Linked DNA regions of Homo sapiens: all the other regions are linked to region 1. Evidence: promoter capture Hi-C in 16 types of primary human blood cells and fetal thymus (Javierre and others, 2016). All regions are on one chromosome and are shown on one strand. The core of a region is centred on a gene start or on the middle of the fragment in contact, and the rest is flanking DNA. Distances in the headings are between cores, read along the strand shown. Region 1 holds the start of CETN3 (centrin 3). Region 2 overlaps LOC105379066 (a long non-coding RNA gene). Region 3 has its middle 32 kb from the start of LINC02144. Region 4 has its middle 52 kb from the start of LINC02144. Region 5 has its middle 120 kb from the start of TMEM161B. Region 6 overlaps TMEM161B (transmembrane protein 161B). Region 7 overlaps TMEM161B (transmembrane protein 161B).

What was found. The method cuts DNA at HindIII sites, captures the fragments that hold promoters and counts their contacts. A CHiCAGO score of 5 or more calls a contact.
Region 2: a fragment that was not itself captured here is called in contact with the fragment with the promoter of CETN3 in region 1 in 3 of 17 cell types (total B cells, M2 macrophages and non-activated CD4 T cells); the score reaches 7.6 in total B cells.
Region 3: a contact is called between a fragment that was not itself captured here and the fragment with the promoter of CETN3 in region 1, in 2 of 17 cell types (total B cells and naive B cells). The highest score is 10.2, in total B cells.
Region 4: a fragment that was not itself captured here is called in contact with the fragment with the promoter of CETN3 in region 1 in 3 of 17 cell types (naive B cells, total B cells and M2 macrophages); the score reaches 11.7 in naive B cells.
Region 5: a fragment that was not itself captured here is called in contact with the fragment with the promoter of CETN3 in region 1 in 1 of 17 cell types (naive CD8 T cells); the score reaches 9.8 in naive CD8 T cells.
Region 6: a fragment that was not itself captured here is called in contact with the fragment with the promoter of CETN3 in region 1 in 3 of 17 cell types (total B cells, non-activated CD4 T cells and activated CD4 T cells); the score reaches 7.5 in total B cells.
Region 7: a fragment that was not itself captured here is called in contact with the fragment with the promoter of CETN3 in region 1 in 5 of 17 cell types (total CD4 T cells, naive B cells, naive CD4 T cells and 2 more); the score reaches 8.0 in total CD4 T cells.

What each region holds. Positions count from the first base shown.
Region 1 is chr5:90,408,444-90,411,044 of GRCh38, forward strand. It overlaps CETN3 (centrin 3), which reads right to left and starts at 1,313. Exons shown (of 5, transcript NM_004365.4): 1 at 1,202-1,313. The coding sequence starts at 1,218. It overlaps LOC731157 (a long non-coding RNA gene), which reads left to right and starts at 1,557. Exons shown (of 2, transcript NR_105024.1): 1 at 1,557-1,861; 2 at 2,057-2,226. RefSeq lists an enhancer at 1,083-1,282. The HindIII fragment of the contact is 6,726 bases long and covers 1-1,403 here.
Region 2 is chr5:87,420,111-87,422,711 of GRCh38, forward strand. All of the region lies in intron 1 of LOC105379066 (a long non-coding RNA gene), which reads left to right. It also overlaps the pseudogene RNU6-727P. Among named protein-coding and RNA genes, the nearest start is that of CCNH, 8.5 kb to the left of the region's middle. The HindIII fragment of the contact is 1,442 bases long and covers 585-2,026 here.
Region 3 is chr5:87,763,412-87,766,012 of GRCh38, forward strand. No RefSeq gene overlaps it. Among named protein-coding and RNA genes, the nearest start is that of LINC02144, 32 kb to the left of the region's middle. The HindIII fragment of the contact is 193 bases long and covers 1,225-1,417 here.
Region 4 is chr5:87,783,670-87,786,270 of GRCh38, forward strand. No RefSeq gene overlaps it. Among named protein-coding and RNA genes, the nearest start is that of LINC02144, 52 kb to the left of the region's middle. The HindIII fragment of the contact is 3,740 bases long and covers 1-2,601 here.
Region 5 is chr5:88,142,555-88,145,155 of GRCh38, forward strand. No RefSeq gene overlaps it. Among named protein-coding and RNA genes, the nearest start is that of TMEM161B, 120 kb to the right of the region's middle. The HindIII fragment of the contact is 948 bases long and covers 848-1,795 here.
Region 6 is chr5:88,232,344-88,234,944 of GRCh38, forward strand. All of the region lies in intron 2 of TMEM161B (transmembrane protein 161B), which reads right to left. Among named protein-coding and RNA genes, the nearest start is that of TMEM161B, 35 kb to the right of the region's middle. The HindIII fragment of the contact is 3,354 bases long and covers 1-2,601 here.
Region 7 is chr5:88,253,794-88,256,394 of GRCh38, forward strand. All of the region lies in intron 1 of TMEM161B (transmembrane protein 161B), which reads right to left. Among named protein-coding and RNA genes, the nearest start is that of TMEM161B, 14 kb to the right of the region's middle. The HindIII fragment of the contact is 2,599 bases long and covers 1-2,586 here.

The DNA.
Region 1 (2,601 bases), core at 63-2,562:
AATATTAATGAGTCTAAACATATGACAAATATTAGATGCCAATATACAATGTTTGTGCTTCATTCTATATAAAAATGTGATGAGTCTTGTCTCATTTAACATGTAAACCGGAGGTTAACTTCTCATAAACTCTGGAAACGCTTAAAGAAAAAAAGCAAAAATTATTTTAAAGCCAGAAATGTTTTCCTTAAGAGCTGCCCATCTAAATGTGCTCCAAATTTTCAAATGGAGCCGCAACACTGGAATAACGAGTTTTGAAACACAATCCGGTAACACATTAACATGTCAAACCAGTTGACTGTACTTAAAACACCTATCTAGTTGCATTTGAAAGTCGTTTTGGTCTCTGAAAGCTCCAAAAAAAAAAAAAAAAAGCTAGGAAGTGACTAGTAGGTGCAGTATAACAAAGCTGAGGAAGATCTTCCTTTCATGAGACCTGACTTGACACAAACTTGGGTATTCCTGGGGTCAGTCTTTTCCTTCCTGAGACTTTTGGAGGCCAAGTCCAGAACCGACCCACCCCTGACCCCATCCAAGGGTACCATGATTATCCCTTAGCAGAACATGGAATATTTTCGGAGTGTCGTAAGTGTATGGATAGTTTTACGGTACAACGTCTACATAGTGGGAGAGGGCAACAGAGGGTTAGAGGTTAGAACTGAAAGGTAAAAAAATGCAAGAAATTTAGGAAATCCAAGAGACAGACTGCCAATTAAAGTCACTAAAATGGGTCTCCAATTACACCGTAAAGCAGGGCCCTGGGAGAAGAGGAAAGAGTTTTTGTTATTTCCAAAATTTATAGGTGGGTGATTGCATTAGCAGCGGAGCAGCCGAGGTGGGGCCCTGACCAGGCACACGGATGAATGAAGGGATGTCCGCGACCTGATCTGAGAAACAAGAGTAGAAGCCTCGCGATATTTCATTCCCACCTCGCTCGCAACTAAGCCCAACCTTCTGGCAGTCCAAAGCCCTACGCGCTGACAGAAATAACCTCCTTAGCAGAAATGCACTGGTCTCGTTCCCTGCAGGGCATCAGAGCCCAGAGGGTGAGTGATCCGGGCAGGCTGCCCTAGGCTCCTTTCCCGCGTCCCAAACTACATCCCCTGCCTCGCCTCGGCCCCAAACGTCCTCCCTTCCACACACACCCTCCCTGGGCCCCGCTCCGGGGTGTGGAGAGCACTGCCGCCTCCTTATTACCGACCTCAGAGCTAAACTCATTATCTCTTCGCACAGAGACGTTCCTCTCAAGAACGATTTTAACCCCCTACCCAAGGCAGCAAGACGCCCACAGCCGTTCAACAGACACGAACGACCTCAGCGGCCTCAGGGACCTCCCACAACATAGACACTTTTGAGCTGGATTGGTTGAAATGTCGCTATGGTTCTGCCTATTAGGGGGCGGAAGCTTTACCAGTTCTATTTTCATTGGGTAGGTTTTACGTCAATCAAGGAAAAAAAAATTTTTTTTCTGTGCCCCGCCCACCTCCTAACGCCCCCCCGCCCCCCCAATCTAGGGCCGCTCTCGCCCTTCGGATTGGCTCGATGCGTTTTTCCCCGAATCCTTTGCGGGTCCGGCCTCCGATCCCTGTGTGGCTGTTTGGCGGGTGGGCGCTGTGTTCCTCTCTCGTAAAGCCGTGCGGTCTGTGGGCCGCCATTCAGAAACTGGATGGACAGCTTCGGCGGTGGGAAGGGAAGGGACATGCTGCAGGCCACCCTCCGGCTAGAAGGAGGGAGTACTTGAGGAACAAGGTCTGCGAAAATTGGCTGTGCTCTGTTCTAAAACTTGGAATGGCCTCAGTACCTGGGGAATGTGTTTAAAATGCAGACTTAAATGTCCGTTTCTCCATTCTAATTTCAGTAGGTATGAATCTGCGTTTTTACTCCTCACAAGCCTTCCAAGTGATTCTGAGGCAGGTGCTGTGGCTGTACTTGGATTATCACAGGGTTAGATTATCAGGCTATTTATGATTTAGCTGTATCTAAACCACCTTTCCCTCTCTTTCCTCCTTTGAACTGTTTGAAACGGATTTGTTCCCTTCTGTCTCTTATTTTTCAGTGCTGTAAGCTGTTAACACACATGAGACTGTCTTCACTACCAAACCAAGTCTCCTAAAGCTCACTTGAATGTCTGCTTATTCGTGTCTCTTACTAGGTTCAATTTCTTGGAGGCCGTGATTATATCTATTTAACGCTTTTCCTTGTACCTAATAAAATGTCTGGTGCGTAGGTGCTCGGTAAATTGAGTGGAATCTTTTGAAAATCCACAAAATACTGAGCTAAACAGCAAATCTCATAAACGTGAATAAAATAGCCTGAGGATGGGAGTTGAAGGCGGAGAATATATAAACATTATATGTTTAAGGGATGTATATAAAATTTTAGAGAAGGGAGAGAACACAAGATATGCTTCTTAAAGGAGGTGACATAAACGTTAGACCTAGAAGGATGGGCTAAATTTGCACAAGGAAAGATAGTATGATAGAATAAGCTAAAAATTAGCTAAGGGATAGCACCCCTAAAAAACAAAAGTGGAACTTTTATTTTGTTCGTATTTTAAATTTTAAAGTACCTTTATAAATCACCTTTGAGTCTAAAAGGAAA
Region 2 (2,601 bases), core at 56-2,555, 3.0 Mb before region 1:
ATTGGGTTGTTGTAATTTTACATTGACTTTAATTACTGGACATGTAGTACAGAGGAGCATCCTACAGGTTCTACTGCATTTCAGACATACTCAACCTTACTTCCATTGTGCAGTAGCAGTCCAATTTCCCCTTGCTAGTTCTGATCAGTCACCACAACTCTCTTCTTTGCCTGTTGATTCAGAGGCATGAGGAATTCAAAGTGGCTGGGCAGCAGTTTTTATTAATTTATTTTTCAATGGAACACTTCATGAATTTGCATGTCATCCTTGCACAGGGGCCATGCTAATCTTCTCTGTATCGTTCCAATTTCAGTATATGTGCTGCTGAAGTGAGCACAGTTTTCATTGTTGTATCTCCTAGTGGAAGCATTTCTCCCTCAGGAACTAAGACTTTTAGGCCAGTAGAGCATAAGGTAATGGGAACAGGAAGCAAACATTTTATTAGGGGGTCACAAGGAGTAATAGTGAATAAATTCATTCCCGTTTCTGCCCCTTATTCCTGGACCCATGAGTCCTTGCTATGGAAGAAACAGCTCTATCTATATATTAGATGTTGATTCAGAGAATGTGCAGCCTTCTGGAGAAGCTTGTCTCAGCACTGCAAAATATTACCATCTAGCTCGTGCTGTAACTAGGTTCTCCAAAGGCCATTCTACTGTTCTATCAAATTGTTTCAGGATAGTGGGCAACATGATAAGGCCTATACATTCCATGAGCATGGACCCATTACCATACTTCTTTTGCTGTGAAGTGAGTCCCTTAATCAGAAGCAATGCTGTGTGGAATCTGTGGAATCCTGTGCCCATGGATAAGGCATTCTGTAAGTCCAGGATCACAGTTTTGGTAGAAGCATTGCATGCAAATCCATACTTAAGATGGTCTTGCTTACAGAGAAGAGGCATCAAAGAACTCTTCAAGGATGCCAGGGCCCCCCTCACACATTTATTTCTCTCAATACTGGTGAAAGTTTGTTTTATGGATCCTTCCAGTGTGGGTGGATAGGTCTTGCATGACAAATCCACTCTAACATTTCACAATCTCCCTAAGCGTTTGAATTTCTTCCTCTGCATTATACCAAGGCAAGTCTGACATTTTCAGTTCACTTACTGTGGGCTACTTTTTAGAACGTGTTTCAGCCAACCAACTGAACAAATTCATGGTGCCCTTTCCAACTCTCTGAGCCGTAACACTAAATGCAGGCTATGCTTAGTGAGCCCATATCAATAAATTCAGCCTGATCTAACTTTATCTTCCTTTATTTCACACTCTTAATGTTCATTCCCACACATGTTTCCTGGACTTCTGTCTGTACAAATTAGAAAGCTCAAGCAGTTCTGTTGACATGTAGTGAACCCTCTCATGAGTCACACTTTTTACCTCACTTTTAAGGGCCTGCTGGGACTTGAGTCTAGCTATAGGTCTAGAAACAAAGAGAGGTGGGTCTTAGGACAGTCAGCATTGTCTTGCATGGCAACTGTCTCATGGGAGGCCATTAAACTTTCCTCAGGCAATGCAGGGTTAATCTCAGACTGGATTAAAAAGGCTGATGCCACTGGTAGTGGGGAGGCCACTAACACTGGGGCATGGGGAGGCTGTTTCCACAGGGGATGGGGAGGCATGCCTTCTGGGAGTGGAGAGGCCTCTTCCACTGGTAAAGAGACATCAGAATTTAGAGACAAAATATCCTCAGCTTTGTCAAGGTCTTCCCACACATCCTCATCCTAAATCTTATTCTTTCCCAATCAGTGCCCACACTTTAACAGCAGACATTCGACAAGGCTGGGAATTTATAAGAAATTAAATTGTAATTTAGTCTCGGGATGGTATTCTGCATTCAATTTTCAACCTAGCCCTTTGGCTATAGGAGATAAGGGTCTCCTTTAGGACACAGATAGAAACTCAGGTCATTTATGTGGTGCTCAAGCTGTGAATTTGAATCCCCGAGCTCATTCTTTTCCTTCACCACTTTGTCCAGCAACAGTGGAACAACCAGTCAATCTTATTGTATTGATTAGTTTTCCAAAAAAGCTTGGAATTACCATATACACAGCCACCCAACTTGTTGCTTCTTGTAAATGGTTGATTAGGAGTGTTCAGTGCAGGTATTTTGTGTATCTTTGCTACCAGTTCATGCCATAGACTATCAGTGCCCCTACGTATATATTTACTATAAGGAATTGGCTCACATAATTATGAAGGCTGAGAAGTCTCATGATTTGGATCTGCATTCTACAAGGTGGAGACCCAGGAGAGTTAGTGTTATAGTTCCAGTGCAAGGCTAAGGACCAGGAGAACCAATGGTAGAGGTTTCAGCTGAAGTGCAGGAGAAGAAAACAGTCTGACAGACAGTGAATTCTCCCTTACTTCATCTTTTGTGGTATTCAGGCCTCCAATGGATTGATGGAGGCCCACTCACATTGTGGAGGGCAATCGGCTTCACTTAGTCTACTGATTCAAATGTTAATCTCATCTATAAATATCCTTACTGACACACCCAGAACAATTTCCAACCAAATACCTTGCACCATGTGTTGCAGTCAAGTGAACATATGAAATTAACCATCACTTTAGTGAGTTTTATTGAAACAAAGCCACACTTGT
Region 3 (2,601 bases), core at 71-2,570, 2.6 Mb before region 1:
AGAAACTTGAGTTTGTAGCTTGAGACTGGAGTTTAAATTAAGACTTCATAATTTATGAGTTATAAAACATGGAGCAAGACAAATGACATCTCTTTGAGTTTAATTCTCCGTATCTGTAACATGATTAGAATAACACCTATCTTACTGAGGTATCTAAAAATATAAGTCAGTGTCCATTATGGAGTCACTATTGAAACGCTTCATGACATAGTAAATGTAAATTCTCTTCTAAATGTGTGGAATTTAAGAATCATCATATTTAAAAATTTTTATTTTTCTAAAGCAGATAAAACTGCTTCAAGTCCCTTCTTAATTGAATGGAGAGAAAATGTTTCTAAAAATGACGTTAGAAATAATTTGAGAATCTACTCCTTAGGTCATATAAGAATTCTAGGGTCCTACACATTCCAGGTTGTTCTGTGGGGCATCGTCTCATCTTCAGTCCATATTGGCTACCCTAATAGACTCATTGTCTGAGACAGCAGGGTCTCAGGTGGCTCCACTGTTCTAAATTGAAGACTCAAGTCATAACGTCCACCCTCTCTAGGTATTACCATAAATGCTTCCATCTGAGGTCTAGCCATCTCTCTATGATGTTGCATGGTACCAAAGCCCTGGTCCTTTCATCTGCAGAACTGGCAGGACCCTAGTTCCTTCCTTCTGCTATCTCCTAAAAACTAAATCTTTCTAAACCTCTCTTACTTCTCCAATTGGCCCTCCTAATCCTTGGGGGTGGGGGGTGGGCCTTCTCCCTATTGATAAATATAGCCCCATCATTTCTAAGAGTCTGAGTTTTTCCAAACCAAAGTACTGGATCTTTGGATCCCTGGAAATATGACAACGTCTAAAGCACAGAAAGACAAGGACTAGACAGTTTTTGCAGGATTATGTGAAGGGAAATAAGTATATCAGTAAGAATAGAGCACAAATTATTCTATTAATTACTCTGCCAAAATTGAATTCAATCAGGATTCTTGAAAGTGGGAAAAATACACTGGAATGCTCTTTCATCTCAATCATATTAAACATCCTATAAAGAAAGTTGTACGTCAACTTAGAATTTTTGTATGTTTAAGTATCAGGTGCTTTCTATAACCAAAGGGGTCAATTCAAAGAATAGCAGTCAGAACACCAACCATAAAACTGACTTTATGGACCTGAGCCTCATCAGAGTAATTTTGGAACTCTTCCTCGAGTCCCTTCCTTCTTAGGTAGCTGATATAAAGCTTGCTGCTTCTAGTCAGTTTTTCTTTCTTTCAGTGATGCTGTTACTTTAGTCACCTTACATTTTCAAGTTCTGGGCACAAAGCTACCCCTCGAATATTAACTTTCTGTGGCATCACAGAGTGACAGCCAATAACTGGGTTATTGGTGTTGCCACTTTTTTTTCCTAATACCAGAATTGTAAGTGGAGAAAAGCTTCCTTTGGTGGTCCCCAAGTCTAGTACTTGTAACTTCTACTAGCAGCTGAAATCTTCCTCACACTTCATATCTTATTCCTAGAAACTCAGTCAGGAAACCTTGACAAACTCCTGCTACCTCTAGAGCAGCGATCCCCAACGTTTTGGCACCAGGGACTGGTTTCGTGGTGTGTGTGTGCGGGGGGGAGGTGGGGGACTGGGGGGTGGTTTCAGGATGAAACTATTCCACCTCAGATCACCAGGCATCAGTTAAATTCTCATAAGGAGCCCACAAGCTAGATCCCTCGCATGTGCAGTTCACAATAGGGTTCAGGCTCCTGTGAGAATCTAATGCCACTGCTTATCTGACAGGAGGCAGAGCTCAGGTAACAATGCTTACCCGACAGCCACTCACCTCCTGCTATGCAGCCCAGTTCCTAACAGGCCGCAGACTGGTGCGTTGGGACCCCTACTCTAGAGGAAACAGATGTGTGTATATGTGTGTGTGTGTGTGTGTGTGTGTGTGTGTTCCTTATTCTTTAGGGACTTGGGCTTCTTCAAGGCAATTCTTTATCTACATCCAGCTCATACCCAAATTCAGGTCATCTGACCCAGAAGATCGCTGCTACATTTCTTTGTGTTTGCTTAGTAGTCTACTATTTATTAAAAAATCAGTTTGAATAGATTATCTTCTTTAAATCTCTCAAGAATCTCATGTTATAGACAGTTTTGTTGTTTTTATTTTACAAAAGAGGAAAATAGGATTTAGTGAGATTAAGTGTTTTTCTCCAAGTTAAGAGCTAGTAAGTGCTAACTGGATCTCAAACTCAGGTCATCTGACTACAAATCCTTGCCTCTGGCCCTACACAACAACTGTAGGATCCTGATTTATGTTTCACTTTCAAGCAGAGTATATAATTCATAATAGCTACTCAATAAATAATTATTAGCTTATTTATTGCATTTGCATAGGCCAGACCCTATGTTTTGGAACTAGTTTAGAAGGTAGGAACTTGGAGATCACATATGAATTTTACCAGGTAAACTCATACCTAATCAAATATAATCAGAGGTCAGAAGGTCAGAAGGTCTGAATTATTCTGTGTAAGCATCCTGCTATTACCGATGCTGTGATTGTCTAAGGGGCAGAGGGGAAAACATACTATAAGCCGAAATGAAGGAGATAAAAGTATTAACAAAC
Region 4 (2,601 bases), core at 43-2,542, 2.6 Mb before region 1:
CTGTAATGTCGGAATTCATAAAATATAAAAGAAAATCTATTGATCAGAATCTCACTTAAATAACAAAACGTTTGTTTTATTTTGTTGTTCGGAGAAAGTCTTTTAATATTGATTGGCTTATTTGTCCAGGTTAATTGAATATCAAATAATTTAATAATTAAATGTTCAAATAGCTGAATATTTAAGCATTAAGCTAATTAAGTATTGATCCCTGTGATAATAAATAACATTAAATAGCAGAGTTGTGATTATACAGAAATAAGCTCTTAAGTTTTTCTCACCTAGAAATTTTTTGTTTCATGCTGTAGTGAAGATTCTACAAAGTCATTGTATATTTTTAAGAAAAACTAAAAAGAGACCCACCAATAATTTGGAAACTGTTAATAAAATAAGTGTACTTTCTTTTAAAAACTGCAAAATTACCCTTTTGTAGACCAGAATATCATGTTTGAATTACATCTTTTAAAATAAAAATCTTGTTGGAACAAATTAGGAAAATAAGGAGGTTTTAAAGAAAGCCAGAGAAAGCATATAACATCTTAATGTGACTGAAATTAATATCTCTTTAATATGAGTAATATAGAAGAAATGGTTTTTTTAAATCCCCCATTGATTTGGGGAAGACATTATACTTGATTGTTGACTATTTCATTTAATTCCTTCACACAAACTTAAGTCAACTATTCCAAAAATCAAGAAAACTTTATCAACATAGTATATTAATTCTAGTTTTCCAAGTGTTTTCACAAATGTCTTCCCACAATGCACTGCCCTAAGTATTTAATCTGTGACCAAGGCTGGGTCACCAATAAGACCAAAGTGATAGCCACAATCTCCATTTCCATGTGCAGTCTCATCAGCCTCAGAACGCTTAGTTTTCCACCAGTCTCCAGTTACAAAGGGCTGCATTCCCACTTTTATGGAGTACAAGATTAAACACATAAAATAAAAAAGTAAAATAAAATAAAGTGCACTAAAACCAAATGGCAGATATTTGAATATAATTAATGTTGGACTTCTATTATTTGATTACACTAAAGATAATATGTGTCTTTGTTCCAAGAATAATATGTCTCTTTCCTCCTTCTCTTCTCTTTGCTGCTTGAGTGAATTGTTTATAAACATGTAACATTCTTCTGAAATGAACTGGGGATGGGGGAGAATGAGAAAGAATGAAATAGAGAAAGAGAAACAGAGAAAAGTGAGACAGAGACAGAGAAACAGAGACAGACAGAGGGAAAAGGAGGAAGGAAGACAGAATTCAGATCATCTGGAATCCAGAAATCTGATTCTGCAGGAAATACGATAGGAGGGCCTATACTACTTTCAAAGGTTAGCTTTAGTTAACCACAGCAACATACAATTCTATAAACTCTTCTGTCTCGGTTTCTTTCTCTCTTTCTCTCACATAGACATATGTGCACACATAACCACACACACACAGACTCATACAGGCCTCTGCCCCAAAATGAAATAAAGAGGGATGTATATTGCTAATCCTCAAAAACAACCATTTGCACCTGGGGTTGGCAATGGCACCAAAAAGCCAACCACTTTTTCTACATTACAGTTCATTAAAATGCCACTGACAAGTTATGTCTTTACAGGAAACAAAACGTATCCTGTTCCTTAAGGAAAATCCAGATAACTAGAACCAATACAAGCCCTTACCCCAGTTTGCTAAATGGGCTCAGGCGAGATGGAGGAACAGCCTGAAACACAAAACCATTATGTGAAAAATAACATTAGTAATTAATCTGATTGAATATTTAAAGCAACATTTTTTTTGAAGTCATCAAGATGTTTTTCCAATCTTCATCAGTCCTCCAGATTTTTATTATTTATTGAATGATCACACAATAATAATATCCCCAAGTATATAACCCATGAGTATATTGGTGCAGATCAAAATGAAAAAAATCTGCTAACAACTTCATCAGGAATCCAAAGGCTTAGGTAGAATTAGAATTCAAGACATCAAAAACCTCAACAACCTATTTAATCCTTTAACCACTAGGCCACACTCTCTTTCAAAATTGTTAATAGAAACAACATTGCCCTTTTTGTACAGCTGTAGATGCCCTATTGATCTGTATCACATAGCATTTAACACTGGATGATTTGGCTAGGAAAAGCAATGTTCACTGTTCCATGGCAAATCAGACAACAATGCTAAGATTTGCTATAGAACCAGGAAAATAGCATAGGAGATAGGGAAACAACAGCCACACAGAACAAACCTCATTTGCACGTTTTTCACAGCTATTTTTTACTCCATAAGAAAGCAAAGTAGTAGAGTGCAATTGTATTAAAAGTAAAACTATTTCTGCCTAACGCAGATGTGGATCATGGGAATGGAAACCTAATAAACCAACAGCTGAAGGCCACATTATTGCCCTATCCTCCTCCCCTAGCTCATTTAGAAAATGACATGTTTTTCTTCACAATGTTTTTCCCCTCCTCTCTTTTTAGTGGCAGTAATGCTGAATGCTCTTGACATAATTCTTCGTTCACCCCTGACAGTCATTTTTTTGAATACTATCCCAGCAATAAAACACCTGACCTCGAGTCTTTCAAATGGCCATTGGCTTAGGTTACCCC
Region 5 (2,601 bases), core at 72-2,571, 2.3 Mb before region 1:
GATGCCATCAACAGCGCTCAGTACAGTTGTCCAGAAAACACCAATGCGAGAAAAACGAAAGAAACCCACCCTATTCAGCCAAGGAAGCACCACTGGGGAACCTAGGTTTTCTAAACACACACGCATACACAACAGGCACACACACACAACCTTGTTAGACAAGAGAGTTGAGTTCAAAGATATAATAGATGCACAATGGATAACTGAGTGCTGGAGAATGTCATCCGCTTAAACAATACTTTGAAATTGTTTCAGCCTGAAGACAGCTTTCTGGGTTGCTCCCTGAAAAATCATACCTAAGAAAAATAAAATCTCATTGATCCTGCTTTCCTTTTACTTTCTTTTTTCTTCTTTTCTTTTTATTTTTCAATGACCGAATAGAGGGAGAATTCCCTTTCCTCCAAAGGAGGGTAGCCCTGTTTTTGTTTTTTGAGTCCATGAACTTACTGTTCATTTCCTAGTGAAGAAGGTGCCAGGGAGCGGTCCTCGGCAGCCTCCCAGCCAGACAGCGCCACAAAAAGGCATTATTACACATCCCAAATAACAAGGGTTGTCTATATATTTACAAATCTGTTCAAACATTTAACCTTTTAACTTGCTAAATATCCCCCTCTTCTCTTTCTTTCTTGCGCTCTCGGCTCTCCCCCCTTTCTGCTTTCTCCTCCTTTTCCTTTCTCTTTCTAAAAGAGCTAGGGATGGGAAGCGCCTTTTCTTGAGTCTAAAATGAGTACAGGGACTCTGGGCTGTACCTGACCCTTTTTGAATGCCAATTTCGTTTTCAGGCAATTGCCTCTTTGCCAGCCAAAAGATCGGGATTGGATCACCAGGGCTACCTTTTTAAAGTAGAAGCTTCTATGTTGCCTTTCAGTTTTTAAACTGCCGCGGAAAAGCATCCACTAAATCGGAGGGATTTTCCAGACCTTTTAAAAGTTTCCAGTACCCCCAATCCGTGATGTTTCCTTCCGCGTTGCACCTCCTGCCCGTCAAGTGACTAGTAGAGGGTATCTTCTAAAGACAGCCAGAAAGTTTCGACAGTGTTTGGCGACCCAGCCAAGGCCGGGGTGACGCACACTCCTACTGCAGGGGCCAATTTGGAATTCCATCTTTTAGCATTTCTTACTGCCCAATCTTTTCTTATGAGACTAATAACCTCATTCTCAGGGCCAATGTAAAATGTGAAACTATAGAGCATGTGGGCCTTTAATGCAGCAGAAGAGTTAGATTCCTCAAAAATTGGGGCATTCTTACTTTGCTGCACGAAGAGAAAAGGAAACTTGTGCCTGGGCATGGTGGAAAGGCGCAGGCGGCGGGCTACCGATCCGGGCGGTGCCAACGCCCTACTCTGCAGCCAGGTGCCCTGGGTGGGCTTCCATTCAAAGAACCCACAAACACCCTTATCCCAGGATCTTCACTCTTCGCCCAGGACTCTACTGTGAAGAAATTTAAAGTGGCCTGGAGGGGCTTCCCCCTGCCATTCTGAGTTTCCTTTTCTAAAATAAAAGAATTGCAAGAAAAATCCATTGCCTTTGAAGTTGAAACAGAAAGGGTGACTTCTTGTTGGCATATTTTCTCTGGCCTAGAACAATGACTTTATTTATGTATTTGTTTGTTTGTTTGTTTCTGGGTAGTGGAAAAAATGAAACTGCAGTTTAGCGAGACATCATGCGTGTCTCGGATTTGTTCAGGTGTCCATAATATTTCAGCCTCTACCAGCTTTAGATGAGTGTTAGCCTCTGAGGTGCCCCACCCCGGATCGGCCCGAAAGCACCCGAGAAAACCCAGCCCTCACCTTGGAAGCTTGCCTTCAGCAAACTCCAGTTGGGTTTACACCTCTCGGTGGTACAATAGCCCGGAGCCCATGGGTATCCGCTAGTCGCTGACTCTGAAATGCGCCGGTCTGCGAGGTAATAATGACCGTTGCTTGCGGCTGTCAGGGCTGGCACGCCGCACCAAGGGCACTCAGGGCCGGCCAAGCCTTGAACAAGGGGAAGGGGGATATGGATAACGTATACGTTTTAAAGAGGTTTACTGAAAACTTTTACAGATCCCACATAAGAGATGGAAGGAAGGCTAAGTGAGTTTAAAAAAAAAAAAGTGTGTTTACTCTTTGTACCATGACAGATCCGGGAGGAAAAACGGTGGCACTAGATTATTATGCGGTGCTTTCTGTAAAATGCCATCAATTTCCATGCTCGTGTGATGGTCAGGACATTTCCCCCTATTGCACAAACCCCTTATGAAAACTGCAGGCAGTTTAAGAGTTTTCCTGTTCTTCCTGATCAGAAAAGATATTCATCCAGAGACATTATCTAAATCTGCAAAAGAATGAAGGCTGCTTGTCATTCGTCCTTCGTCTCCAGTAATGTGTGCCATCCAATTAGAAGCAATTTGAGCAATCAAGGCCGTTATGGGAGAAGCGGGTGTTAAAAATAGGTTTTCTATAGCCTGAGAACTCTAATTCGGAAGAAAATCTAAAATTACATATGTATCATTTCTTTATATAAAATAAATATATAATCTGAGTGTCTCCTGTTAGCTCTTATTTTTTCCTCCATGGTCCCTCCCCTATTGCCTGCCTTCCTTTTGGGAATTCATAACAAA
Region 6 (2,601 bases), core at 47-2,546, 2.2 Mb before region 1:
GCAAATCACAAAACAAAATCCACAAATAATGAAGATGAGTGCATAACATTTAGAAGAACACTTATAAGAAATAACTCATATAAAAGAAAATGATCCAGAATAACTCATGTATAAAGACTAAAATTAGTTGTTCAGCTTTGAGAAATAATAATTAGTGAAAGAACTCTCAGTATAGGAAAAATTAGATTTTATTTAGAGCCCTATAGTAATGAAATATTTTAAGACACATTTTCTTATTTTTTTTTTCTGAGACAGAGTCTCACTCTGTCACCCAGGCTGGAGTGCGGTAGCACGATCTTGGCTGACTGCAAGCTCTGCCTCCCGGGTTCATGCCATTCTCCTGCCTCAGCCTCCCGAGTACCTAGGACTACTAGCGCCCGCCACCATGTCCGGCTAATTTTTTGTATTTTTTAGTAGAAATGGGGTTTCACCGTGTTAGCCAGGATGGTCTCCACCTCCTGACCTCATGATCTGCCCGCCTTGGCTTCCCAAAGTGCTGCGATTACAGGCGTGAGCCACCGCGCCTGGCCTTAAGACACATTTTCTTTTTAAATATACTCATATTTGTTAAATCTTATTTTGTAAACTCATTTCTCTAAAATGGCTTAGATTTATTACATTTCCTATGGGATAACTCAGGGTTATCTTTATTAGTGAGAATTATTGTTCAAAGTTGGAATCTAAGGATGCTCGATACTTTTAGGGTCACTTCTAGTCTGTTATTCACCTACCCATTCATTCATTTATCAGTCACTTAGGGAGAACCTTCTGTATTCAGATACTCTGCTAGGCAGAGGAGATATAATCACAACCAATTAAAGCCAAAGCCTTTGCCTTTTTGATGGTTATATTCCAGTTGGGGTAAAATTTAACCAATTAAATAGTGAAAAATAAATTGTCATACCACATGAAAGAATGAAACAAGTGGTGAAAATGTGAGAGACAGCCTTAGATATTAGGTGAGGAAAAACTTCTCTGAGACATTTAACCAGCAACCTAAAGAATGAGAAAACAGAAGAAGAGCATTTCAGGCAGAGAACACCAAATCCAAAAGCACAGAGGCATGAAAGAACATAGGACATTACAGTAACTAAAAGGCAATGAGGCAAGAGCTTCAAGGAGAAACATAAGAGGGGACTGAAGAGGTAAGAAGGGAACAGATCATGCAAAGGCTAATAGGTCATAGTATGGACTTCAGATTTTATGCTAAATAATGGTCTCAAAGCAATGTAGATAAATAATTTGATTCACATTTTAAGATCCCTTTGGTTGTTCTGTGAATTAGAGGGAGACAAGGGCAGTGAATCAACAGGTCTTGCTGATGGACTAAAGGTAGAGAGTGAACAAAAGTAAGCAATAAAGGATAATATCTACATTTCTGATTTGAAGATGATGGTACCTTTTCTGATATGGAAGAGATCAGGAAGAAATCAAGAACTTAAAAATGCTGAGTTTTAAGTACCCATGAGACATCAAGTAAAAGTGACAGGGCAACTAGATATTAGAATCTGCAGTTCAGAGATAATTTGAGGTGATTACATAATTGTGGCACCTAAATCCATAGGGATTAATAAAACCAACTAAAAAGGAACTAAAAGATAGTATAACACTAGTTAATGAGAAAGTGAAAAAGTAAAGTTTATGTAGACAACATTTCAACAAAGTTGGCTACAAAGGGAAATAGAGGAATGGCCAAAAACTAAGAAATGGATATGGAGGGGCTTTGTTTTTTAAGGGGGAGAGAGGTAGGGCTGTGACTTCTTTATTCGTTGTTGTTACTTTAAATGGGAGAAGTTTAAAAAAAAAGTGTGTGTGGTAACAGGAATAATCCAACTGAAATGGAGCAGGTGATAAAATACATTTTACAAATTTAAAGATAAAGAAGAGGGGCTGCACATTTAACCAGAGTTGTGGTTTGGTAGTATACAGATGAGAGTGATGGGCGCTTGTTTCAAGAGCTTAGGGTGAGGCTGAGGTACAGATGCTTAAGTTTTGGAGAGAAAGGATTTAGGTTGAAAAAGTTGTCTGAGAAGTACAGCATACAAACTCTGCCAGGCAGTATAAAGCAGCCATCTAAGGTCTGTGATCATAGATTCCAAGTAAAACCTACAAGTACAGTTTCACAATTTTCTTTAGCAGTCAGTGTTGCATATACAGTTTGATTCCACATAGCATGGTTCCCAGCTACTACATTTTGTATTCTGGTCTCAATTTCCAGTCTTTTCCTTTGGTATTAAGTGGTATGTCTATCTCAATAAAATGACGGCCTGCTTGCAACTGCTGCACTATGCTTGCCTTTCTAATATGGGCTTGGAAGACAGATACAGATATAAAAGTCATTAGAATGTAGCATGTAGAATGTACTCTTTTTGAAATGGGAAAAAATATATTTCTTAGAAAATTGAGAGTAAGTATTAACAGAATCTCACTTAAAAACTCAGTTGGGTGTGGTGGCTCACACCTGTAATCCCAACACGTTGGGAGGCTAAGGCAGGAGGATTGCTTGAGCCTAGGAGTTTGAAACCAGCCTGGGCAACATAGCAAGATCCTGTCTCTAAGATAAATAAATAAGCCTTTCATATTTAAGTTAAATATACAACT
Region 7 (2,601 bases), core at 37-2,536, 2.2 Mb before region 1:
ACAGCTTTTAAATCAAAAGCAAAATTTTTAAAATTAAAACTTTTAGAGAAAAAATAAATTAGGCATGAGATTAGTAATTATCTCTGTAAGTTTCAGTAAAATAAGACTTAGGTGATTATGTAAAGATAAAATGGAAATAATGGGCATAATCATTGGATAAACTAAGCAATAAAAGAAAAATCTGACAGTTACTAGAATACATATATATATAAAATATATTTATTATAAGAGAGAAATGTACATGCTTGAAGCAAAAGGGAAGGAACCAACATTAGGGAGGTGCTGAAGAGTTAAATGTGGGAATTTAACTGCTTAAGGGTCAGAAATAGATGAGATCAAAAACATAAAAAAGTTTATCTATTACAAGATCTCATATATCCTACTGAATTGAAAGCACATATAGGTATGGAGATGTATTAATTCTGAAAACAGAGGTCTCACAGTTTATATGAATTTGATCAGGGTAGTTGAAAAACTAGGTCAACGTTCTAGATGTCCTACCTTCCAGTAGATAGAGTTATTTGAAGAACTTATTATAGATTATTTCAAATTTCAAAATTCAAAATTCTCAGATCATCTCCTAAGAACCACAATGGGGTAAGGAGTTGAGCTGTAAAAGAAAGGAGAGGAAGAAGGGACAGCTAAAATTTGTGAAAATTTTGACAAAAGAGGAACATAGAATTGATTGAATGATTGCCAAGCACCTGCAAATCTGCATGATTCAGCATATTAGGTAAAAACATCAGAAAAATGATTGATTTAGCAGGATGTGGTGGCTCATGTCCATAATCTCAACACTTTGGGAGGCCAAGGCAGGAGGATTACTTGAGGCAAGAAGTTCAAGACCAGCCTGGGCAACATAGCGAGACACCCTTCTACCAAAAGTAAAAACAAAAAAATTAGCTGAGTATGGTGGCATGTGCTTGTAATCCCAGCTATTCAGAAGGCTGAGGTGAGAGAATCACTTTAGCCCAGTAGGTTGAGACTGCAGTGAGCCATGAGTGCACCACTGTACTCCGGCCTGACAAAGTGAGACCCTCTGTAACTGTAAAAAAAATTTTAAGGGAAAAAAAAAAAAAAGATTGATCATCATGGGACATTATACAGGTTACAAGAATAGGAAAATCCAGGATGATTAAGTGGGTAATCAAAAGAACCAAAGAAAGCACCAAAATGGACAAGGTTTGAAAGAAAAATTTGAAGAATAACCACACCAAGATCAGGGTCTTCAAAGGAGGAAAAAAATGTCATGTCATAAGATAAAAACCAGAATTACCACTCTGGCAATGTGACTAAGAGGTCTAGAAACTTGAGAAGAAAAGTGTGATGAAACTATGTATGTGGAACTGATGGACCCAAACTGGGTTTTTGAAGATGGTTATTTCCAATAGGTTCTTTGGTAGGTCTGAGGACTGTCTAATCCAGAAGAGAAATTCTCCCATATAATGCCAAAGCTGATAAAAGCAGCACAAAACAATCATGAAGAGACCAGCAGACTTCCTTCCCATAGAGCATCTCTGGTATCCCACTACTGTGGCCTTCACTGGTTTTCTAACATACCTGCAGCGCTTACAGACACAGTAAACTGGACTGGAAGTAAAAAATGGGGGCCTATACTAAATATGAAATGAAAGAACAGAAGAATTTGGTAGAAAAGCAGCTAAAGAATAAGAACACCTATTGATATCTAATGTACATTTATTGGTTGAATCCTATGAAATTGCTAATACTTAATTGTCTTGACCTACAAAATGGCAATTTCATATAGTTCATCTTAATATTACAAATAGAATTATAAAACATAATTGTCAACAACTATAATTTGAACTCAGATTTATCTATTTCCAAATTTAATTGTTTACAGAATTAATTGGGTTTGTCAGCACTGTTTTACAGCATAAAATACATTTTTAATTTCCTTAAAAAGTGAAAGCATAATTTTTTTGCCATTTTCTAAATCAGAAAAACAAGAAATTTAATGTCCTTCCAAAGGTCAAAAAGCATAAATCCTCAATACCTCAGTACAGCTTTTTGACCCTTTCAAAGGTCAAAAAGCATAAATCCTCAATGCCTAGATACATTCTAAATTTTTTAAAGATTAGAACTACAACAGTAGAATGTGTGAATTTGATGTAACTATCTTAAAAAATACCAGCTCCAGACTTTCGGATAAAGATGACAATATAAAGTCATTTATCAGATTTTGATTAAATTTAGAAATAAAAAGACATTTTCCGCAGTATAAATGACAAGGCAAATGGAAGACCAACAACAAAGAGGGAAAGGAAAAAGATACTTTTTCATAACAATAGAAAACATTCTAATTAAACACAAGTCACAAACCATTTTAACATATTGGTGTTCAAATTAACAGTTGTTTATTTTAAAAGATAACTTTCCACAGTTAAAAGAGGTTGAATAAATAATGTAATATCTCATATAAAGCAATGCCATAGTCATTAAAGTGTTGACAAGGAACAAAATATTCTTAAACATATTAACAAGCCACTTAATCTCTAGCCAAGACATGCATAAATGTTTCATTACAGTACTAAAAAGTAACAAATAAAAGGTTCAATGGAAGAAAGCTTCCTAAATTCT